3 separate regions of the Homo sapiens genome follow, and regions 1 and 3 are each linked to region 2. Evidence: promoter capture Hi-C in human tissues and cell types (Jung and others, 2019). All regions are on one chromosome and are shown on one strand. The core of a region is centred on a gene start or on the middle of the fragment in contact, and the rest is flanking DNA. Distances in the headings are between cores, read along the strand shown. Region 1 overlaps FERRY3 (FERRY endosomal RAB5 effector complex subunit 3). Region 2 holds the start of FGF6 (fibroblast growth factor 6). Region 3 overlaps FGF23 (fibroblast growth factor 23).

The links. The method cuts DNA at HindIII sites, captures the fragments that hold promoters and counts their contacts. A contact is called where the count stands out against the background at its distance.
Region 1: a contact is called between a fragment that was not itself captured here and the fragment with the promoter of FGF6 in region 2, in 2 of the 25 tissues and cell types used here (lymphoblastoid cells and mesendoderm cells).
Region 3: a fragment that was not itself captured here is called in contact with the fragment with the promoter of FGF6 in region 2 in 2 of the 25 tissues and cell types used here (mesenchymal stem cells and mesendoderm cells).

The regions. Positions count from the first base shown.
Region 1 is chr12:4,531,649-4,535,350 of GRCh38, reverse strand. FERRY3 (FERRY endosomal RAB5 effector complex subunit 3) reads left to right here. Exons shown (of 14, transcript NM_020374.4): 3 at 1,049-1,194. Among named protein-coding and RNA genes, the nearest start is that of FERRY3, 5.0 kb to the left of the region's middle. The HindIII fragment of the contact is 5,337 bases long and covers 1-3,702 here.
Region 2 is chr12:4,443,314-4,447,230 of GRCh38, reverse strand. It overlaps FGF6 (fibroblast growth factor 6), which reads left to right and starts at 1,416. Exons shown (of 3, transcript NM_020996.3): 1 at 1,416-2,006; 2 at 2,995-3,098. The coding sequence starts at 1,661. The HindIII fragment of the contact is 16,147 bases long and covers 1-3,917 here.
Region 3 is chr12:4,368,350-4,371,803 of GRCh38, reverse strand. It overlaps FGF23 (fibroblast growth factor 23), which reads left to right. Exons shown (of 3, transcript NM_020638.3): 3 at 1,021-3,454. The coding sequence ends at 1,461. Among named protein-coding and RNA genes, the nearest start is that of FGF23, 9.6 kb to the left of the region's middle. The HindIII fragment of the contact is 4,544 bases long and covers 1-3,454 here.

The sequences.
Region 1 (3,702 bases), core at 527-3,026, 88 kb before region 2:
GCATCACCTGCAAGCTTGTTAGACATGCAAATTCTCGGGCTGCATCCCATTTCTGCTGAATCAGAAACTAGGGTAGCATGTGGCAGTCTGTTTAAATAAGGCCTCCAGGGGTTTCTAATGCACACTTAAGATTGTGAACCACAGTCTAAAGTCGCGAACATAGTGATAATAATAGAGCCAAAGCCAGAACACAGGTGTCCTAACTTCTCTCTCAGTGCTCTTCCGTTATATCATTCTCTAAGTGGTGTCTGTAAAACTGAAATCGGTCAGTCATCTAAGTTAAATGTGTTAATAAGCTAGTCATTTAACTTCTCTTTCAAAGGATGTAACAATGTACCCTTTAAAGTTACATGGAAAACTCTTTTTAATGTAAATACAGTAATGTTCAGACCTTCAAAATCTGTAGCATTTTCTTTATGTCCTTATACCCACTTGGCTTCAAACTGAAATATCAGGCTTAAGAAAGTAACATTACTTTATTAGTATCAAGGGAATACGTAAGAGTTAAGACTTTTGACCTTTCTCTATGCAATAGCCTGTAATAGTAAAGGAAAATAATCATGAAATTAGTTAAATGATCCCCTAAGCTGATTTCATTTTAGTTGGAGATTCTATTAAGAGTATCAGCTTGATAAAATAAAATTTCATGTCTGGGCAAGGTGGCTCACACCTGTAATCCCAGCACTTTGGGAGGCTAAGGCAGGTGAATCACTTGAGCTGACGAGTTCAAGACCAGCCTGGGCAACATGGTGAGACCTATCTTTACCAAAAATACAAAAATTAGCCATGCATGGTGGCATGCACCTGTGGTCCCAGCTACTCGGGAGGCTGAGGTGGGAGGATCACTGGAGTCCGGGAATTCAGGGCTGCAGTGAACTGTGATCATGCCACTGCACTCCAGCCTGTGTAACAGAGAGAGAGACCCCATCTCTAAATAAAAAATAAAAATTTAACAATAAGATTTCACATTGGAATTCTCAGCCAAGTAAAATGTTCCCTATTTATACCTGGATTTTGCTGACGATGGTGTTTGATGTCCCTGTAACAGACTTAAAAGAAGCTCTGACTCAGTTTATAGAAGAAGAATCCCTCAGCGATTATGATAGAGATGCTGAAGCATCCCTGGCAGCTGTGAAATCAGGTGAAGTAGATTTACATCAGCTGGCGAGTACATGGGCCAAAGCTTATGCTGAGGTAAGAAAATAGGTCAGATTGTAAATTTCAAGGATATTCTGGATTTTGGTGAAAATTTTTAAAATGCTGTGGTAATCCTGAAATCGTTATAAGATCCTTTTTCTCCACATACAATATTCTATAATGTATATGTTGCTGCTTCTGTGCTTCCTATATCAGGGTGAGCACATAAGACAAAATGCTATTTATGTAATACCTTTGTAAAACAAGAGGCTACTTGCATATATCTCACCAGCACAGGGTCTCCAGATTTAGTAATTAAAAATATAGGACACCCAGTTAAGTTAGAATTTCAGATAAATGAATATTTTTTAGTATATCAACATATTACATGGAACATATTTATACTAAAAAAAATTGTTCACTATTTATCTGAAATTCTAATTTAAGTGAGTGTTCTGTGTTTTATCTGGCAACCCTAAATCAGCAACAGCATTCATGTAACCTTTGGTTTACTTTTATAAACTTATCTTCATTATTGTTGTGTAGTCACATCATATCATTTTCTATTTAAATAATATACCCTGTTTCATAAAGTCTAAGATGCCATTAGGTATATCACAAATGATTTTATTTACTAAGAAAGAGCACTGCAAATTAAACTATGAGAGAATGCCAAGATGACATCAAGTATAAGAGGCAAAGAAAAGACTCAAAAATATCCATTGTATTTATCAAGTAATCTTGTCTGTGGCAAGATCAGTTTCGGTAAGTTGGTGGTGGTGGAAATGAGATTTCACTGACTCTAAGCATGTGGGAGTGTGGAAATAGGAAGAATTAGTATACTAACTGAAGAAGTTCGAATATAAAGAGGTGAAGGATGGGGCACTGGCTAAATGGGAACACAAGGTCAGAGGTTTGTTTGTTTGTTTTTTAAGGCGGCAAAGTTTAGGACTAGAAGGGATAGAATCCAGAACTCAAATGGAGAATTAATCATAACTGGGAAGACAGATGCTTCTCCACTTACAGCCAAAGAGAAGCAGGAAAGGTTGGATATAAATTCAGATAATTTTATTAATTTGGTAGCAGGAAGTTGAGAATATTCTCTTCTGAGTGTTTCAACTTTAAGGAAAGACAGGTTATTTGTTTAGATGAGGCAGTAGGTATAAAAAGATTGTTGGATATTTAAGGAGAAAACCGAGCAGCGAATGATAGGATTGCCAGGCATCATTGAGGCCAAGATTAAGAGTGGCACCAGTTTGTCACCATAAACTTTATAGAGTTTTGTGATTTTTCTGCTACAGCTCTCTAAAGCCCGACTGCAGGCATAGAGAAGAGGAATAAGATGAGGGTTTTGTTAGGTGGGTAATATAAGGTACATCAGTCAAGGGAGTTGAGGATATCGGCAAGACAGTGGTTGAATGCTAGATCACAAAATGTAAGCTACATAGGGAAAGAAGTGAAGCTAAGTGGCAGTTGATGGCTGATTTAAAAAAAAATGAAAACATTGAGAAACTTATGAAGTGGAGGTCCTGATGAGGTTAAATATCAATTACCTGGGGATTATTGAGCGAGAAATCTTGGGTGGAGGTTGTAGTCAGAGACTAGAATGTTTGAATACTGACGGACTGAGTTTCTGGTGAGGATACTAAATGGATGGCTGAGGTGGTGTGGAGAACTAGTAAATGTTGCAGGTAAACGATGACTATCTGGGCTGGTGGTACAGGGGTAAAAGAATTTACCAAGACAGTTGTAGATAAAGAAAGGTAGGTTTATTAGAGAAAGTAGGAAAATATGTTGCGAGGAGGCAATGGGCAGGCCAACAGAAGAGAAGCTGACTTCAAGGAAACAAAGGCTTGCTGGAGATTTTATAGGACAGCGTTTATGCTGTATGCTGTACAGTGCTGTGTGCAGTACTGATAACCCCAAGACTGCAGTGAGCTGCAGTCTTGCAGCTATCTTGCAGGTGTCTGGTGAAAGGTGAGTGCAGGAGGGCTACGTGGCCTGGACCAGGGGTGTCCAATCTTTTGGCTTCCCTGGGCCACACTGGAAGAAGAATTGTCTTCGGCCACACATAAAATACATTAACATGAGGGATAGCTGATGAGCTAAAAAAAAAAAAAAAAAAAAATTCACAATTTATGAATTTGTGTTGGGCGGCATTCAAAGCCATCCTGTGCCACAGGTTGGACAAGCTTGGTCTGGACCATGAGGAAAGGCAGACTTATAGCTTATCTGCTTTCTCTTTTTGCTTTCCCCTGGTCCTGCCAGCCTGATTCCTTTTCCCTAATTGGGACTCCACAGTAAAGATTGTAGAGTTCGGGAAAGTAAGAAGGCAGTGCCTTGGATGGGTTTCCACATGGATATCCAAGTAACCCAGGTTGATGGCAGGATGTGGGGCAGAGAGGAATTCTTTGAACTTGGTGCCAAAGCTTTACAGGAATGAGGGTGAGTGACAGACAGGTAGGTTGTTAGATAATGATGGCCATGAAAGATAAGGGGTGCTGAATGGTTTGAACCTCAAAGAAGTCAGGCGTTATGCCTGAAAGTGGAGGTGGAGAAATAATG
Region 2 (3,917 bases), core at 167-2,666:
TGCAATGTGGGTGTAGAGTGTGGCTAAGGGAGCTGCCTGCTGGGACCAGCTCTACTGCTCAGGACACTCAAATCCATCTGTATGCCACTGTCATCACCCCACACATACTCTCTCCAATCCCGGCAAAATCAGTGCTAATGTCTCACCAACAGATTAAGGCCTGGATTGAAGTACAAGAAACAGGATTTTTAACTCAAGTTAATTCAATTCCCCAGCGACCCTTGTTAACTTATTCACCCTCAGAGACGTATTAATAGTTCTGTCTTATATTGTATAGAAATTTGTGCAGTGAGTTTTCTGGTAGCTTTACATTTTTTTTCTCACTTCAGTTAGACATGTAATCTATTTAAAAGTAATATGGGAATAAGATAAATCAGTGTAGGAATAACTTCCTGGCAGAAATATTTTTACTAGTTTCTGAGTGTAATATCAGCCCAGCAAAAGTTATCTGCAAATATAGAAGTTCTCATGTACATCAAAGACACTCAAGTTTTTTTTAAGAAATAAATCATTTTATGCTACTGAAATAACTCTGTGATGTGCTATTGGCATTTAAGGAGCTAAACAGACTCTATGGGCCAGCCAACTTCTACTGCAAGCATTAGACATGCACAGGCTTTAGACTCAGGCACACCTTAGAAGTTCTGGCTTTGCTACTTATTAGCTATGGTAACTCGGGCAGGTCATTTATCCTCTCTAAGCCTCAACTTCCTCATCTGTGAAATGGGAATAATATCAGTCACATGCCAGGGATAAATCCAGGGAGAATGGCCAGGGGGCTGTGTCAAAGGCCAGACACAACTTCCACCCCAGGTGAATGTCGGGACCAGGACAGTGAGCAGGCAAACCTTGCCCTTGCCCTCCTTCCCTCCACAATCTTAAAGCTCCTTGAACAACCCCCATCCCCACCCCCTGAGAATGTCTGTGCCCTCCTGCTGAAAGGGTTTGGCCTTTCAGTGTTCCCCTCCACCATGAGCTGTTTCCATGAAAAGATCTCAAGGGTGACTTGAGGCTACGGTCATCACTACCACAAGCCTTTTCCCATCCCTGCCTCTACCTATTGCCCTCTAAATAAGGAAGCCAGCGCTGCCAGGCAAAGAACTTCTGCCCAATATGGGTCCTGGGTGGCCTCTCGCCTCTCTCTTTCCCTGGGCCCCCAGCCAGCTCCCCCCTCCCCCAGAGATGCTCCCTGCTCACTTCATTCCTGCCTCATAGTTGGAATGACAGTGGCTCCCAGAACCCCTGGGGAGTGTGGAGGGTGATGGGGGTCTGGGGAGGCAGCCAGGCCCAAGAGCAGGTTAATGTTACAGCCCTGGATAAGTGAGCTGGGCGGGTTGACGTCAGGGCGATGATGGGTGGAGGGGAGGGCCGGGCTGCTGAAGCAACTATAAAGATAGGTCAAATCAAATATCATCAACTAGGGACGGAGCAAGCGGGCGAGCTAGAGAGCGTCCCCGAGCCATGGTCTCTACCGGCCGCGGCTCAGCCTGGGTCCCTCTGCTCTCAACCCGAGTGCCCGATGGAGGCTTTGGTTTCATGTCAGCAGCCTTCATCTGCCTTCCAAAAATAAGCCCCTGCCGCCATGCCGGAGGGAGAAAAACAAGAAGGGCGGTATTTTTAGGGCCATTAATTCTGACCACGTGCCTGAGAGGCAAGGTGGATGGCCCTGGGACAGAAACTGTTCATCACTATGTCCCGGGGAGCAGGACGTCTGCAGGGCACGCTGTGGGCTCTCGTCTTCCTAGGCATCCTAGTGGGCATGGTGGTGCCCTCGCCTGCAGGCACCCGTGCCAACAACACGCTGCTGGACTCGAGGGGCTGGGGCACCCTGCTGTCCAGGTCTCGCGCCGGGCTAGCTGGAGAGATTGCCGGGGTGAACTGGGAAAGTGGCTATTTGGTGGGGATCAAGCGGCAGCGGAGGCTCTACTGCAACGTGGGCATCGGCTTTCACCTCCAGGTGCTCCCCGACGGCCGGATCAGCGGGACCCACGAGGAGAACCCCTACAGTGAGTGCCAGCTGCAGCCAGTCGGGACGCTTGGGGGTTTGGGCTCATGCAGGGCTAAAAGGTGAAGGGGCCCTGCTCTAGCGGACAGGATGCACGATAAAGGGGGCAGAAATGCTGCTCACCACTTAGATGATTCCACGTGACCCTGCCTGGGTGCAAGCTCAATATACTGCGGTCCAAGCATCCTGGTGTTCTTTGCCATCGCCTTGGTTAGATCCTCAGTGGCACTAACTATTTCAGCATTACTGGCCCATCTGATGCCTTGTAAGACCATTAGGAACCATTAGTCTGGGAAGCCCCCAAGGCCTGGGTAGGGAGAATCAGTTAGTATACTTGGATCAAATTTGACACAAGCTCATTTTTATTCAGCTTCTTTCTTGGAGAAGGAAGGGAAATTCAATTGCAAAATGTCCAACTGAAGCACATCCTTCTTTTTATTTCAGCGGCTCCCTCTGTCCCCAGGTTCTTATCCTGCAAGCTGCCTGCAAGCTGCCAGCTTGCTGTATGGTTAGTCTCCTATCCAAGAAAGGATGGGGGCTGCAGGATCCAAGAAAGCCATCAGCTATGGTGTGGCTGCTGTGTTTTCAAGATTAAGTGGGTTGAGATTTGTTGAAACATGTAGAGTACACATTAAGAAGAAGAAGAAGAATCAGAATTTATTTTTTTACTCAAGTCAAGGACCTCAAGTAATTATGTCACTGAAAGCCCAGATTCAAAGCTCATCTTAAACAGATAGCTAAGTGGTCACTGCAGCCCCTAACTCTGCTATCAGAACCTTCCCTTGCAGAACTGGATTTCTAACAGCACAATGGCAGCACTCGATGAGTCCAGCAGCCAGGGTCTCCTAGAGTTAGAGGGATCATGGATGGGGCAATGGAGAGTCTGGCTTTCTAGGAGAAGGGGGATGGACTGAGATGCCCTTGTCGGCTCAAGTTCCCACTCTGATTTGCACAAGCCTTAGGTAATGTGGCCCCCCTTTCCTTGTCAGGCCTGCTGGAAATTTCCACTGTGGAGCGAGGCGTGGTGAGTCTCTTTGGAGTGAGAAGTGCCCTCTTCGTTGCCATGAACAGTAAAGGAAGATTGTACGCAACGGTGAGTTCACCAGGCCGGGGAAGTGCCAGGTTTACAAGGCTTGATGCTTACACAGTTGAAGAAAATAATATGAAGTCCTGAGTAGAGAAGTGACTATCTAAATGGGAAAGGAAAGGCTGTGAGAGGAGCCTGTGAAAGGGAGGGGCCTTGCAGCTTGTGCTTCTTCAGCCTCACGGGTGATTGTCCTCTGCCCTGGCCCGTGCTTCTTCTGTTCCCACCTGCCGGCCGGAGCCCGTGTGCTTAAACGGAAACCACAGCTCAGGGAGCCCGTGGGCCAGAGGGAAACCCACATTCTGGCATCCAGGCTTGTGAGCAGGTGTGATTCCCTGCACTGGCGAGGCCCCGAGAGCAAGTCTGTCTCTCTGCCTGGGTGCGCTGCTCCATGACACGCGCCCTGCAAGATGCCCCAGCCTCGTGCGCAGCAGGAGGAGTGGAATGGGAGGCTATTTTCATCCTCATCAGTGTGCTGAGATTCTGCACTAGGGTTTTCAATCCTCTGGTCTCCGATCACGTACGCTAGAGAAGCAGCCTACCCGTTATACACTTTAGGCTGGTACCAGTCCCACCCATTCCCATCCCCACCCCCATAGGTCACCTCTGGGAGTGCCAATGCTGGCACTTGGGTTAATGCAACCAGCTTCTAAGCACATTGACGAAAACCTCTGCTCTCACTGACCTACTCTTTCCTGCAGCCCTCGGCCCATCATTTGGCTTATTCCAAAATATGGCGGGGCAAACATCCCGATGAGGCTGAAGAAATGGAGAGTTCCTTTGACAGAAATAAGCAAGCTAAAAAGGAAGACCTCAGAGCAGGCCTCA
Region 3 (3,454 bases), core at 762-3,261, 76 kb after region 2:
ATTCTGGGACTAGCTGTGACTTTGGGTAAATCTCCTCACTTCTCCAAACTTCAGCATTTTCACTTGGAAAAAGCGAAGTGGAATAGACCACGTGACCTGTGGAGCTCCCTCCAGTTAAAGATTTTTAATTAATAACCCCTGCCCCAATTGTGATAGCTATTCATTCGGATTGGTAAGCAAAGGATTTCCCAAACTAAAGGCTGCTGGCCTCTTTTGGAGGATTTTGAGATAGTAAAATAGTAGGACTGCTTATCTCAGGAGTCTCTGACCACCACACATGCCCACTAGAAACTCCACAAGAACAGAGACTTTCTGTTTTGCTTTCTGCTGCATCCCAGCCCCTACAATAGTGTCTGGCTAGAGTAGGTAAACAAACAAACAAAAAATCTGTTGAACCACTATTGAAATATAGATAACTAACTAAACATCCGTTAACCCCTCTAGGCATGTAGATAGTCCTGATCTGTAAACTGCTTACTTTGTGGAGCTTGAGGATTAAAAGAAATAACAGGCAAAGGCCTTCGTGGGGCACTCAGTAAAACCCAGTACTAGTGGTAGAGGATTCAAACCCAGCTCATCTGTCAGCAAAGTTCATGTCTCCAATCCCGTCAGTGCTCTCATTCATGTTTGACCCTATAAACTCCATCCCCTCTCCTTTCTCCAGTAAAGAGACAAACCCAAGCCAATTTTCAGCCAGCAGAGGCTTGGAAAAGATAGAGGGCAGGAAGGACAAGGTGGTGCCTACTCCAGGAAAACCACAGGCCAGGCCAGCCCGGGCCTCCAGGCAGTAAGCGGAGGCCCCAGTAGTCGTAGTCTCTGAAAGGGCGAACTATATAGTCAGGGCTTGAGCATTAATCAAAACCACTCTACCCCAGCAGGGAACAAAGGGGTGAAGGCTCAACGCCCTAAGAACTGCAGAGCTTCAGGCCGGCTGGCACAAGCATGTGGCCCCAGGAGGAGCTGGGGAGTGGGTGGGGCCCCCACTGCCAGCCTTCACGTGGTTCGCTCTTGTCCTTCCAGCACTATTTCGACCCGGAGAACTGCAGGTTCCAACACCAGACGCTGGAAAACGGGTACGACGTCTACCACTCTCCTCAGTATCACTTCCTGGTCAGTCTGGGCCGGGCGAAGAGAGCCTTCCTGCCAGGCATGAACCCACCCCCGTACTCCCAGTTCCTGTCCCGGAGGAACGAGATCCCCCTAATTCACTTCAACACCCCCATACCACGGCGGCACACCCGGAGCGCCGAGGACGACTCGGAGCGGGACCCCCTGAACGTGCTGAAGCCCCGGGCCCGGATGACCCCGGCCCCGGCCTCCTGTTCACAGGAGCTCCCGAGCGCCGAGGACAACAGCCCGATGGCCAGTGACCCATTAGGGGTGGTCAGGGGCGGTCGAGTGAACACGCACGCTGGGGGAACGGGCCCGGAAGGCTGCCGCCCCTTCGCCAAGTTCATCTAGGGTCGCTGGAAGGGCACCCTCTTTAACCCATCCCTCAGCAAACGCAGCTCTTCCCAAGGACCAGGTCCCTTGACGTTCCGAGGATGGGAAAGGTGACAGGGGCATGTATGGAATTTGCTGCTTCTCTGGGGTCCCTTCCACAGGAGGTCCTGTGAGAACCAACCTTTGAGGCCCAAGTCATGGGGTTTCACCGCCTTCCTCACTCCATATAGAACACCTTTCCCAATAGGAAACCCCAACAGGTAAACTAGAAATTTCCCCTTCATGAAGGTAGAGAGAAGGGGTCTCTCCCAACATATTTCTCTTCCTTGTGCCTCTCCTCTTTATCACTTTTAAGCATAAAAAAAAAAAAAAAAAAAAAAAAAAAAAAAAGCAGTGGGTTCCTGAGCTCAAGACTTTGAAGGTGTAGGGAAGAGGAAATCGGAGATCCCAGAAGCTTCTCCACTGCCCTATGCATTTATGTTAGATGCCCCGATCCCACTGGCATTTGAGTGTGCAAACCTTGACATTAACAGCTGAATGGGGCAAGTTGATGAAAACACTACTTTCAAGCCTTCGTTCTTCCTTGAGCATCTCTGGGGAAGAGCTGTCAAAAGACTGGTGGTAGGCTGGTGAAAACTTGACAGCTAGACTTGATGCTTGCTGAAATGAGGCAGGAATCATAATAGAAAACTCAGCCTCCCTACAGGGTGAGCACCTTCTGTCTCGCTGTCTCCCTCTGTGCAGCCACAGCCAGAGGGCCCAGAATGGCCCCACTCTGTTCCCAAGCAGTTCATGATACAGCCTCACCTTTTGGCCCCATCTCTGGTTTTTGAAAATTTGGTCTAAGGAATAAATAGCTTTTACACTGGCTCACGAAAATCTGCCCTGCTAGAATTTGCTTTTCAAAATGGAAATAAATTCCAACTCTCCTAAGAGGCATTTAATTAAGGCTCTACTTCCAGGTTGAGTAGGAATCCATTCTGAACAAACTACAAAAATGTGACTGGGAAGGGGGCTTTGAGAGACTGGGACTGCTCTGGGTTAGGTTTTCTGTGGACTGAAAAATCGTGTCCTTTTCTCTAAATGAAGTGGCATCAAGGACTCAGGGGGAAAGAAATCAGGGGACATGTTATAGAAGTTATGAAAAGACAACCACATGGTCAGGCTCTTGTCTGTGGTCTCTAGGGCTCTGCAGCAGCAGTGGCTCTTCGATTAGTTAAAACTCTCCTAGGCTGACACATCTGGGTCTCAATCCCCTTGGAAATTCTTGGTGCATTAAATGAAGCCTTACCCCATTACTGCGGTTCTTCCTGTAAGGGGGCTCCATTTTCCTCCCTCTCTTTAAATGACCACCTAAAGGACAGTATATTAACAAGCAAAGTCGATTCAACAACAGCTTCTTCCCAGTCACTTTTTTTTTTCTCACTGCCATCACATACTAACCTTATACTTTGATCTATTCTTTTTGGTTATGAGAGAAATGTTGGGCAACTGTTTTTACCTGATGGTTTTAAGCTGAACTTGAAGGACTGGTTCCTATTCTGAAACAGTAAAACTATGTATAATAGTATATAGCCATGCATGGCAAATATTTTAATATTTCTGTTTTCATTTCCTGTTGGAAATATTATCCTGCATAATAGCTATTGGAGGCTCCTCAGTGAAAGATCCCAAAAGGATTTTGGTGGAAAACTAGTTGTAATCTCACAAACTCAACACTACCATCAGGGGTTTTCTTTATGGCAAAGCCAAAATAGCTCCTACAATTTCTTATATCCCTCGTCATGTGGCAGTATTTATTTATTTATTTGGAAGTTTGCCTATCCTTCTATATTTATAGATATTTATAAAAATGTAACCCCTTTTTCCTTTCTTCTGTTTAAAATAAAAATAAAATTTATCTCAGCTTCTGTTAGCTTATCCTCTTTGTAGTACTACTTAAAAGCATGTCGGAATATAAGAATAAAAAGGATTATGGGAGGGGAACATTAGGGAAATCCAGAGAAGGCAA